Regions from separate parts of the Homo sapiens genome. Here region 2 is linked to region 1. Evidence: promoter capture Hi-C in human tissues and cell types (Jung and others, 2019). All regions are on one chromosome and are shown on one strand. The core of a region is centred on a gene start or on the middle of the fragment in contact, and the rest is flanking DNA. Distances in the headings are between cores, read along the strand shown. Region 1 holds the start of SP8 (Sp8 transcription factor). Region 2 holds the start of MIR1183 (microRNA 1183).

The links. The method cuts DNA at HindIII sites, captures the fragments that hold promoters and counts their contacts. A contact is called where the count stands out against the background at its distance.
Region 2: a contact is called between a fragment that was not itself captured here and the fragment with the promoter of SP8 in region 1, in 2 of the 25 tissues and cell types used here (H1 embryonic stem cells and heart left ventricle).

Annotation. Positions count from the first base shown.
Region 1 is chr7:20,783,300-20,789,314 of GRCh38, forward strand. It overlaps SP8 (Sp8 transcription factor), which reads right to left and starts at 3,587. Exons shown (of 2, transcript NM_182700.6): 1 at 3,479-3,587; 2 at 1-2,496. The coding sequence starts at 3,499. The coding sequence ends at 991. RefSeq lists an enhancer at 1-625. The HindIII fragment of the contact is 9,980 bases long and covers 410-6,015 here.
Region 2 is chr7:21,467,520-21,473,534 of GRCh38, forward strand. All of the region lies in intron 3 of SP4 (Sp4 transcription factor), which reads left to right. It overlaps MIR1183 (microRNA 1183), which reads left to right and starts at 3,539; the gene lies at 3,539-3,627. The HindIII fragment of the contact is 5,755 bases long and covers 163-5,917 here.

The DNA.
Region 1 (6,015 bases), core at 2,337-4,836:
TCACCGGAAAGGAGTATTTTTGCATAAGAAAAAAGCACCTACCCTCACCCCCGCCCCCACCCCGTAAGTTAAGTTAATGCAGTCAAAGTAACTTTGGGATCAATATTAGCAGTTTCGAGAGAAAGATTGCTCCCCGTTAGAGGAAAAAACTATTATAGAAGGGAAACCAAATGGAAGGTTGCTATTTTCCCCCTAGTTTTTTTAAAAATAAAATATATGCTATAAAGATGAAAGAAAGCTGCTGCAGCGATTCGACAAGACTGCCCTTTGCTGAAACTTGCATCGGTTCCACCTCAGGGAACAAAGAAAAAGAGGCAGACTGACATTGGGAGATCTAAACTCTACAAACTCTGGGTCTCGGGCTGCCAAAAGTCACCCCCACCAAGCCCCGACAGCCTGAGTAGGACGTCCGGCGATGCCCAGGGGCCTGGCAGGGTGCTCCGAAGCCGAGGTGCTCAGTACAGCGGCTCTGGAACCAAGCAGCCGTCTGCCCGGGCGGCGCTGTTCTGCCCAGGCCTCCAGCCTCTCCCTCTCCACCGCTCCGCTCAGGCTTGTCAGCCGAGCCGCTCCTGCCCGCGCGAGGCCCGCTGTCTACCAGGCACTGGATTAGTCCAGCTCTACCTCCAGTGGCCGTTCCCTCTAAAAGTTACGCCCTTCACAACCTGGGGGGTGGAGGAGGGGAGGACAAGGAAGAGAGAACGAGAAATAAAGGCCCGACGAGGCGCGGGTTCCGGCTGCAACGGGTTCAGGCAGCGTTACCCGTGGAAAGGGAAAGCCAGGGCCCGGGACAGCGATGCGTGTTACTTACTTGTCCATATCCCCTTTACAAAGTTAAGTCACAGAAGGAAGAAGGAAGAGGGGCAGAAACAGAAAGAGACAGAGAGCGAGTCGGATGCAATAGGGAAAGGCTGGAGTTGAAGTCCGGACAGACAGGGCCCAAGAGGACTTGGTGGGAGGAGGTCGGGGAGAGGGGCGGGCGCAGGGTGGGCGTCACTCTAGGCCGTTGCGGTGCCCGGGCTCGGGGGGCTGCAGCAGCTCTGGGGAGTGGCAGGGCGGGCTGCCCGCGGCGCTGTGCTCGCTGTCGGTGTCGCTGCCCTTCTTGCCGCCGCTGCCCGAGCCCGCCGAGCCGCCGCCGCCGCCGCCGCCACTGTGCGTCTTCACGTGCTTGCTGAGGTGGTCGCTGCGCATGAAGCGCTTGTTGCAAACTGGACAGGCGAAGCGCTTCTCGCCGGTGTGGGTCCGCAGGTGCCGCTGCAGCTCGTCGGAGCGCGTGAAGCGCTTGCCGCAGAAAAGCCAGTTGCACACGAAGGGCCGCTCGCCCGTGTGCCAGCGCAGGTGCGCCTTGAGGTGCGAAGTCTTGCCGTACACCTTGCCGCAGCCCGGGATGTGGCAGCTGTGCAGGCCCTTGCGCCGCAAGCTCGCCCCGGCAGGGCCCAGCCGCTCTGCCTCCTGGCAGTTGGGGCAGTCGCAGGTGGCGCGGCCGGAGTAGCGGCGAGCTGAGGAGCGCGGGGAGCCCCCCAGCGGCGCCGAAGGCCCAGCGCTCAACATGGAGCCCCCCGCGCCGGCCAGCGGCGACGGGGCCGAGTCCGGGTAGGAGCCGGGTAGCACTGGCTTGAAGCCGTCCATGAGGTGCTGCCCGGCGGGGCTGAGCAGGTGCGAGGAGGCGCCGCTGCTGAAGGCCGAGTGACTCAGGCCCGAGTAATCCGAGTTGTAGCCTCCGAGCGGCGAGTGCAGCGAGGTTTGGAGCCCCCCGGCGGCAGGGTGCAGCGAGCCGGGCAGCGCAGCCGCGCTGTTCGGGTTCTGCACGTCGATCCAGCCGGCCCCCACGTCCCACCAGCTGGAGGCGCCGGCCGAGCCCACCTCGCCCGCAGCACCCAGGCCCGGGTGCGAGGGCTTAAACCACGACTCGTACGGGTGCGCCATGCCCACCCGCGGGTAGATGCCCTGCAGCCCGTCCACAGAGGTGTGCACCTTGGAGATGAACACCGGCTGGTGGGAGCCGTCCTGCGAGTGCGCGGAGGAGCCGCCGCCGCCGCCCCCGCCGCCGCCGCCGCTGCCCCCGGAAACTCCGGGGGCCTGGAAAACAGAGTAGTCGTTGGCGAAGGGCGAGCTGGAGGCGGCGGCTGCGGCGGCGGCGGCGGCGGCTGCGGCGCTGCTGGAGGTGAGGGAGAAGGCGCTGGAGCCAGGCGAGCCGCCGCAGCTGAACGAGTCGGACACCAGGGCCGCGGCAGCCGCGGCTGCTGCCGCGGCCGCCGCAGCCGCCGAGGACGAGCCGCCGTTCCTGGAGGCCCCGGACACGCCGAAGCTTGAGAGACTGGAACCCACTACGTTGCAGCTGGCGGAAGAAGAGGACGAGGAGCGTTTCCAGGGGTGGAAGCCTTTGCCGAAGGAAGAAGAGCTGTCCGAGAGGGAGGAGGGAGACGGGCTGGGGCTGCCTATCTTATTACAGGTAGCGGCAAGCATGGCCAGAGGAGTCGATCCCAACCTCGGTTCTTCCTGCGAGGAGGAGAGGAGAAGGAGTGGGGGAGGGGAGGTGGGCAAAGGGCCGGTGGGGGAGGAAAGGAAGAAATGTGCATCAGTCCTTCGGTAGCCTCCAAAGCGCCCCACTGCACCCCATCTCTCGCTGCGGCGCGCCGCCACCAACTCACCTGGCACCCCCAACAGCCCCGGCGCCCGGCCGCTTCCTACTCTACAGGAGGGGACAAGTTTGGCTGCCGGCGTCTGATTCGGGAGCAAGCACCACGCTAAAGAAGAGTTTGACAAGTATTCTCACCTAAAACAACACTCTCTTGCACACAAAGCCCCAGACACTTCGTAACAAACAAGCAAAAAGTCCAGATTGGAGAGGAAGGAAGTTTTCTTTGCCGAGAAGCCTGGGGGAAAACCATTGGATTGCTTTTAAGAGCGCTTCCCTGTAATCCGGAGAGCTTTGAAAAACCTGTTCGGGTCCCCAGAAACCCATCCTGGGTTGTTTCTCCCAGGCCAAAAGAAATCAAACTGTAGGGCTCACTCTTTCTTCCTGCTTTTCTTTCTTTCTTTTTTTAAAAGCATATCTACAGTAGTAAAAACGAGACGAGTTCAACGTACCTGCGAGACAAGGCGGGCTGCAGAATTTTTTTTTAAGGGTTAGGGGAAGAATCTGCACTTTGCCCAGAAGGAAAAACTTGCTCTCTTTACCCCCGAAATCGGTGCCTGTAAAATGGGCTGGACGCAGGTCTCCCGGGCAGGGAGCAGCGAGGCGCTGCGCGGTGGCTTGTCTAAATGCCCTTCGAACCTTTTCCTGCGCTGAAAAAAAGTGACTCTGCCCCCTTCTCCCCCTTTTTCTTTTCTCCAAACTCACTTGTATTTAAAGAAAAAAAAAAAAAGCTCTCAATAGAGAGACTGATAGCCCGTGGCCTGGCCGGGGCGACTTTAACCCCCTCCAATCGGCAATAAAAGGAAACTAATTAAACCAGCAAGAGAAAATCCTGAGACTCACCCCTAGAAGTGAAGTTGCCATCACACAAAAGTGCCCTCCTCCTCTCAGAGGATCTTTTTTATATTGATAAATCAGAGGCAGTGTTTTTTTTAGAGGTGTGCAATACAATGATCAGTTCCGCCCATTCCACCACAATTGTAGCTCCCTCTCCGGCTTTGAAGTGCCGCGGAGGCGCGGCCAGCCAATCTGCGGCCTCGCCGGGCCGCGCGGCGCGCGCGCCGTGAGGTCATCGGCGCCGCCGCCTGCCGCCGTGGTGGAAGGGGGAGTGGGAGCGGAGGGGGCGGGGGCGGCTGCGTGTGTTACAAAGCGCAAAGCGCGCGCTCGCGTGTATGAGTGTGTGTGTAACAATGTAACTGTGTGCGAGTGTGACCAGGCGTAGGAGAGGACAGTGCGGAGACTGGAGGGAGGGGGGATGGGGGTGTGACACCGTAACAGTGACAGTGTGGTAAAGGCGGGGAGTGGAGAGAGTGCAGAAAAGGGAGGGTTGTGTGATAAGATAACTGCGTGTGCGACAAAGCGGGGTAGAGGGACAGAGCAGTTAAGTGTTGGGAAGGGTGTGAGTGTACGGTAGTGTAACTGACAAACCTAGGGAGGGAAGAGGGACTCAACTGGGTGGGGGGTGAGTGTGTTTGGTGTTGGGGGAGAAGGAGGGCTGTGAACATGTGTATTTGTGCGACAGAGAAGAGGGAAGGGTGTGTGTGGGCGCTTGTGTTGTGTGCGCGCACCAAAGCTGGTAGTGGGGAATGGGAACAATGCAATAAAGTGTGTGTTTGTAAGAGAGAGACTGTCGAGCTGAAGAGAGAAACCGACTAAGTTGATGGAGGCTGAGTGAATAAATATTCACAAACGCTGCCCCTGTCGCCAACTTCCTTTGGCTCCTTGTACCTAAAATCTTGAGTGATTTTTTTTTCTTAACTTGGTAAACAGCGTCACTACATTTTTGAAGAAGATCTTTAAACCCACCTTTTCTTTCCCGGCTCTCCAACGAAATAGTAGAAAGGTTGAGAGGCTAAGGGTTATTTTTAGGGATGCGTTGGGACGTGGATGCGCGCCTGCGCGCCCATGAGTTGTTTCTTTGATGCCGTGGCTTTTTTTTTTTTTTTTTTTTTTTTTTTCCCTGAGGTGGAATTCTGCTTTAGAAGTGCACGTCTCACTCTAGGGGAGGAGGTGTGTGTGTCCCGTGGTGTTGAGTAAATTTCAATACAAAAGGATTAGATAGAGAAGAGAGTAAGCGAGGGTCGTTTTTTCTTTGGGTAAGAAATTGAAGAGCGTTTTACGGAATTTAGAAATTTTCACAGAAAACCTCACTGCCTCTTTCTGAGAAAAGAATCAGGACTTTGATCGAAATATATGGGTTCTATTTATCTAAGAATAGAGAGGAGCTTTTGACAAATCTTGGACATTTATCCAGGCGTCAGTGTCTAATGGCGATTGGGCCAGAGATCTGTCTATGAGTGTGTGTGCATGTTAATAGATACACTTAGTTCAAATTCGGTGGGGTTTAGTCATTTGCTTGCCATTTGTGTTATTAGTTGCCTTCAGAAATGCCATTACAATTTCACTGCCACCACAAGGGAACTTAAACCGCAGAAAGCACAACACCAGTGTAGCAAAAAGTCCAGTCTTTGTAGCCCTATTGAATATTCATAAGTTATAAAAACAGTTCATATTTTTAACCAGTTACAAGTGCTCTCAGAAGTCTAATTTTAAAATGGAATTAACTAAAATGTGACTAGCTGGGCGAACTGTTTTGTTTTGACTGGGAAAACATTTTTATTTTACTGTTGTGTTTGAACCCCCCTCAAGGATTTCACAGCTTCTAGGGATGTCAAAAAATCTTCCTAGGGTTTACAAAATTTCGAAGTCAAGTTGTATCGTGTAAATTTCATTGAGCAGAGTTGAAACTGATGTTTGTGGTGTGAGAGTGTACATTTCTGACCCTTTTTTAAACGCTGTGGGGATATTGACTGTACATCATATCTATTGATTAAGGGGGTAAGGTATACTCTCATACTTTGAAGTAAGTGTGAAGTAAATTAATGAACTGCTTTCTTTCTCTGAGGGCTGACGCTTACCATAAATGTCGTGTTTCTCCCTGCAAGCCGCTCTGAATGATTTTAGCGTGTTGAGAAGGCGTGACAGGCCAGCCCAGAAGGAGGAAGGGGTGGGGGAAGGAGGGTACTCCGTTTAACAAATAAAAGAGAATTAACTTCATTGCTTTGGTCTCCTTCTTTAATGATATTCATTTTAAGGGCCTAATATACAGTTGTTCAGATTTGGGGTTTAATTCTAATCAATACCATCATCCTCAAAGGTGGAGAAAAACAGCTTTGAGGGGAGGCTCCCATCTATGAATAGTTATTTATTTTATCTTTTTATCCTCCTATCTTCTGGAAGGAAGTGAGGCAGGACTATTAAAAAGTTAAATGCTGATACTGAGAGTAAACAGAGGCGTTAACACTGTTTCCTCAAAAATGCCAGGAATTAGAAAAACCCAGCGTCATGTGACTGCAGTTTTGAGCTACCTAATTCTAAGA
Region 2 (6,015 bases), core at 1,790-4,289, 680 kb after region 1:
TTCTATCCTCCCCAGCCCTAAGCATATTTGGTTATCTTTTTATGTTTAGGAATATACATCCTGCTTGCTTATTTTAAGTCAGATCATTATGTAAACCAAATCCTATTTTAGAGTGTGTTTATTGAAAGTTATTTGCAATGTTAGGAGACATATTTTTTGAGAGGACCTTAGACATTTTCTTAGGCAGATTCCAAGTTTAATCTGTAAAGGAAGTCAATCTAGGTAGGCTCAGTTAAGAATCATTTTAGTATTATTCAGAACAGAAAAAATCCCACTGCCCCCCATGGCAAGTTTTGTATCATAGAAATCAACAGCTTTTGTTTTTCCTGATCAGTTATATTAGAAAACCTTGTTCCCTAGGTTATATGCACAAAACATAATTAAGAAACACATGTACTTTGAACCTGCTGTATGATTATTATTAAATAGGTCAATTTCAGTTTATTGGTTGGTGAGTTTATTTATAGGTAGATAGATAAATAGTTTTGTTTTTCAAATTTGCGGATCTGTCTTACTTACAGAGTAATGTTACTTACTATTTACTATAAGAAAAAACCTTGCAAATCGTCTTTTCCAAAAGAAGAAATAAGGCACAGTTGGATTATTTTGTGTACACACACGCATCTGTTTTAAATTGTGTTCATTTCTGTCCCTATTCCTAAGCTAACAGCACCTTATTTTAATTACTGTAGCTACCTACATATCTTTATTCTACTATTCTGCTTTTTCAGACTTTTCTTAGCTGATTTTTCACATGTCAAATTAGCAGACTTTCATGGAAAAGTTTCGAATTAAATTTGTGATTGCATTCACTTCCTAGAATAATTTTGGAAGAATTGACACATTTAGTTTAATGATTCTTCCTATCCAAGAACATATATTTCTCTCTTTTGAGGTCTTGTTTTATATCCTTTATTAAATCTTCCTCAAGATCTTGCATATTACTAATTAGATTGATTTCTCAGATATTTGTGGTTATTGTTGCTATTATGAATGGAATTTTTTTTTTTTCTTTTTCAATTGTTTGTTGCTGATATGGTTGGGAACTGTTGCTTTTTTATGTTGCTCTTGTATTTGGCCATCTCGCTGATGTACAGATGTCATATTATAATAATTTGTTGATTTTTCTATAGTTTTCTAAGTAATATAATTATATCTTTTGTAAATCATGACAGTTTCGTTACTTCCTTTTAAGTCTTTATTTCTTATATAGATCTGTTATTTCTTGCCTTACTACATTGGCTTAGACCTTAAGGAAATGTACAGTATTAGAGGTGAGAGCAGTAATCACTTCTATTAGAAACTACAGTGAGATATCCAATTTTTTGTTTATTAAATGATTTTATACATTTTACTGAATTTCTCATGCTCCATGAGATGAAACAGCATTCTCCCATACTTCTGGTGGAAATGTAAATGAATGCAGCTCTTTATATATACTCCTGTAATTTTATAATCTAGATAGTCTTACAAATGTTTCATGTCCTTTGATTTAGTAATCTCACTTCTAGGACTATCCCTTGGAAATAATAAACAATATTTTAGTTCAAGTTGCTCATTACTTTATGTTACTTATAATAAGTATTTGGAAATAAATATCTAACAGTACAGTAATGGCTTTGTAAATTATGGTATATGATGAAATATTGCACAACTATTAAAATAATTTGTAATATTAATAACTTAGAAGTACTTATATTACTAAATAAGTAAAAGAGGATAATACAGAATTTTTATATAGTAAAGTTGTATCAGCATCAAAATACATTGAACAAAGATTAAAACAGAACTTAGATCATCACATCAAAATGATAATAGTGGTAATCTATGGGTAATTACTTTCTGGATGATTTCATTTCCTCATTCATAGTTTTCTATGGTGAGCATGCTTTGTTCTTAAAATCAGAAGAAAAAGAAACTTAAAGTGTATGTGTTTGTAATACTAAACTATTTATTTTCATCAAAATAGGTAGAAAGGGAGAAATCTTAGCCTATTCCCTAAATGGCAAGTTTAGTTATAATTTTTTTTTTTTTTTTTTTGAGACGGAGTCTTGCTCTGTCGCCCAGGCTGGAGTGCAGTGGTGAGATCTCCACTCACTGCAACCTCCGCCTCCCGGATCCAAGTGATTCTCTTGCCTCAGCCTACCAAGTAGCTGGGACTACAGGTGCCCGCCACCACACCCGGCTAATTTTTTTGTATTTTTAGTAGAGACAAGATTTCACCATATTGGCCAGGCTAGGACTAGTTGGTCTCAAACTCCTGACCTTGTGATCCACCTACCTCGGCCTCCCAAAGTGCTGCAATTACAGTCATGAGCCACCATGCTGGGCCTATAATTTTTTAGAGTTAATATTTTTATAATACTCTTTTCAAAAAAAAAACACCTTGCTGAATGTAGATAGCAAATGTCATAGGAGAAATCTGATACCTGAGAGAGTAGTACATAGTTTCAGAACCAAGGTTGAGAGTTATGCTCTGGGATCTGCTTCTAAATGATCTGACTGCCATATCAGTGAGTCAGGGAGGAAGTGTAGCAGATATCCACTTGATTTGGTTTCTTACTGTCTTGTCACCCATGTGCATGTGTATTGTAAACTAGCTGTCATTTAGCAGCCCTGTGATATACTGCTGGCCGAGTTTCGTAAGAAAGCTTCTATGTTTGTATAGATTTTAGATTATCATTCGCTTTATTTAAGAAACATTCATTAAGTACTTTCAGTGTGTCAGGAACCTTGGTAGCCAAAGGACAAATGACATAAAAACCACACAGATGGCCTCTTTCTTGAGCAGCTTTTGTTGGAAATAATTTATGACTAATATTATGATGGAGTGAGATGGTGTCTTACTAGTAAGACCAGAAATACTTAAATTCTAATTCAACCAATTCTTGAGATCCCTTAGGGAGCTAGGTATACCAAAATTCAAGTTAGAATTTGTTGGCTTAGGCATAGGCCCCTGCCTCACAATCCAGAGAACTAGGTTATTCTATATGGAATATGCCTTTTTCCTTTACCAGCTAAACCTGACTTTCCTTTCTACGTGTTAGCTTAAATTCAAGTCGTCTCAAATTTTACTACTCTACTAAGGCAAAAAACTACTGGTACTAAAAGAAAATGAGCAAGAAATGTCCAACAAGCTAGATCTTGTTGAATAGTTAGCAATTCAGATGTCTTACTACCTACCAACAAACTGTCCCCCTCCATTACCTTGGCCCAGTTTCTATATTTGGAAAAAAAAAAAAAAAAAAAAGCAGAACAAAAAAGGAATAAGAAAGATGGCTTGGCTGCTCCAAGCAGCCTTGGAATGTTTTACCTCTGGTAATGTGGAAGAAAAATAAAAGAACGGCCATCCTCAGTCTGTTTCACCATAATGTGTAGTTACAATACCAAGAAATTTTGAGTTATTAAAAAAATTATTTTACAAAGCAGTTTCATTGGTAAGAAGGATTAAAGACTAAAATCTGTAAGATGAATAGACTTTTGTCAGACCAAGGGAGATGGAGGTTTGGGGTGGGAGAATGTGTTGGATTCCAGCTATATTATTCAAATGCTCGGAGACACAGAACATTAGAGAAGACAGGAGTTCACTGTAGGTGATGGTGAGAGTGGGCATGGAGCAGGAGTGCCAAGAGATGAAGTTATAAAACTAAGCAGGAGTTAGATCATGAAGAACTTTATGTACTATGCTAAGAAATACTGACCTTATTGTGAATGTATGGAGGGCCCATTGGCTTTTTGGGGAGCTAGGTCTGCAATATGAATATTAGAAGGGGCAAAACTGGTGATAAGGGCTTGCACTAGTGTACAAGCAATAGGTATGGTGAAAATGGAGACATTTGAGATATTTTGAAGAGGTAGACTTAACAGGGACTTATGATCAACATAGATAATGTATATGGTGGAAAGAGAATAGCTTTTTGAGTTGGATAAGTGTGGGTTCAAATCCCAGCTCTGTCACTTTTCCATTTTAGGATCTTGGATGTTTTACATACCCCTGAGAACCTTAGTTTTCTCATCTTAATTGGGACAGTAAGCTGGGTGCCATGGCTTGTGCCTATAGTCCCAGCTACTTGGGAGGCTGAGGCAGGAGGATCACTTGAGGTCAGGAGTTTGAGTGTAGCGTGGGCAACATAGTGAGACATAATCTCTAAAAGAATTTTAAAAATTAACTAGGTGTGGTGGCATGCATCTGTAGTCCCAACTACTCAGGAGGCTGAGGCAGGAGGATTGCTTGAGTCCAAGAGTTAGAGGCTACAGTAAGCCATGATTGTGCCGCTGTACTCTAGCCTGGGCAAGAGAGCAAGACTCCATTTATTAAAAATAAAAATTTGGGACAGTAATATTTAGCCCATAGGGATGTGAAACAATATATGGAAAACATCCAGTAAAGTGCCTTACCACATAGTAGATATAAAACAATAGTTGCTCTTGTTGTCAGGGTGAAGGAGATAGAGAGGAATCAAGAATGACTTCCAAATTTTCTATTTGAATGGTGAAAAAGAGCTATATTAGGAAAGTGGGCTAAGCTATCTGGTTCTTAGATTGCTTGTGAGGATTCAGGTGGAAGTGTTCACTGGCAGTTGATAGTAAGAGTATGACACTTCTGAGTGGAAGGCACAGATCTGTGAGTTAATCAGCTTACACATAGCAGTAAAAGTTATGAAAGTAGATGAGGTCCCCCAAGAAGAGAGTTAGAATGAGAAGTCAGAACCCTGGAGAGTGGCCTAGGAAGAGTAGAGGGTGTATTTTGTTTGATTGTTTGTTTGTTTGTTTGTTTTTGAGAGGGACTTTCTCTGTCACCCAGGCTGAAGTTGAAGTACAGTGGTGCCATCACGGCTCACTGAAGTCTTGATCCCCAGGGCTCAAGTGATCCTCTCACCTCAGCACCTCATTCTCATGAGTAGCCAGGACTACAGGCACATGCCACCATGCCTGGCTAATTTTTTAATTTTTTTAAGAGATGGCATCTCACTGCGTTGCCTAGGTTGGTCTTGAACTCCTGGGCTCAAGCAGTCCTCCTGCCTCGGCCTCCCAAAGTGCGGGGATTACAGGTGTGAGCCACTGCACCTGGCTGATAAATCTTTTCAGAAAGTGACATAAATTTAGATTTAAGTGCTGATTTTAAAAAATTGCTAAGGCCATGCATGGTGGTGCATGCCTGTAATCTCAGCTACTTGGGAGACCAAGGCAGGAGAATTGCTTGAGCCCTGGAGTTCAAGACTGGTCTGAACAGCAGAGTGAGACCCCCATCTCTTAAAAAAAAAGAAAAAAAAAAGCAACCAAACAAAAAGGAGCTAACAGAGAAGAAGGGGTTTCTGAAATGTAGGAAGTTAGCTCACAGAGTCAAAATTGAATAAGGATGGAGTGGCGAGTGGTGTCAAATGCAGCAGAGCAGTCCTGTAATGGTCACTGAAAAAATGCACAATAGATTTGGTCATTAGAAGGAAGACTGTGAACCAGGAGCTGAGTAAGTCCTTGTGGTAGAGTGCTTTGAATGCCAGACTTTGGTCGGTGGAAGAATGATTAAATGTTATTGAGCACGAAAGTGAGATGATCAGAACACTACTTTTTTATTTTTCTGGCAGCAGTGTGAAGGATGAGAAAGGAGGGAAAGCTCAATTTAGGTTGGTAGAGGCACAGATTGAACAAGGGCTTGGATCAAGATGATAATCTTGCTTGGAAACAGGTTAGCGTAAGAGCTGTTAGGCAGTAGTGTCTTCAAAATTTGGTCATCACTGGATGTAATGAGTAAAGAAGTAGCCTAAAAGATGACATTTTAAGGTTTTCAGTGTGGATAACAAGGAGAATAGGGGTAGCATTTACTGAAACAGGGACATTAGCAGAAGCAAGACTGGAAGATGAAATCATTTTTTATTTTTAAACTTTGATTTATTAAGCATATGCTATTGAGTGGCACTGTTATTGAGTTATTAGGCACTGTTACGGTACTAGAGATACAGCAGTGAACATAATAGGCAAGATCCCTACTTTCATGGCACTTTACCTTCAGAAGTG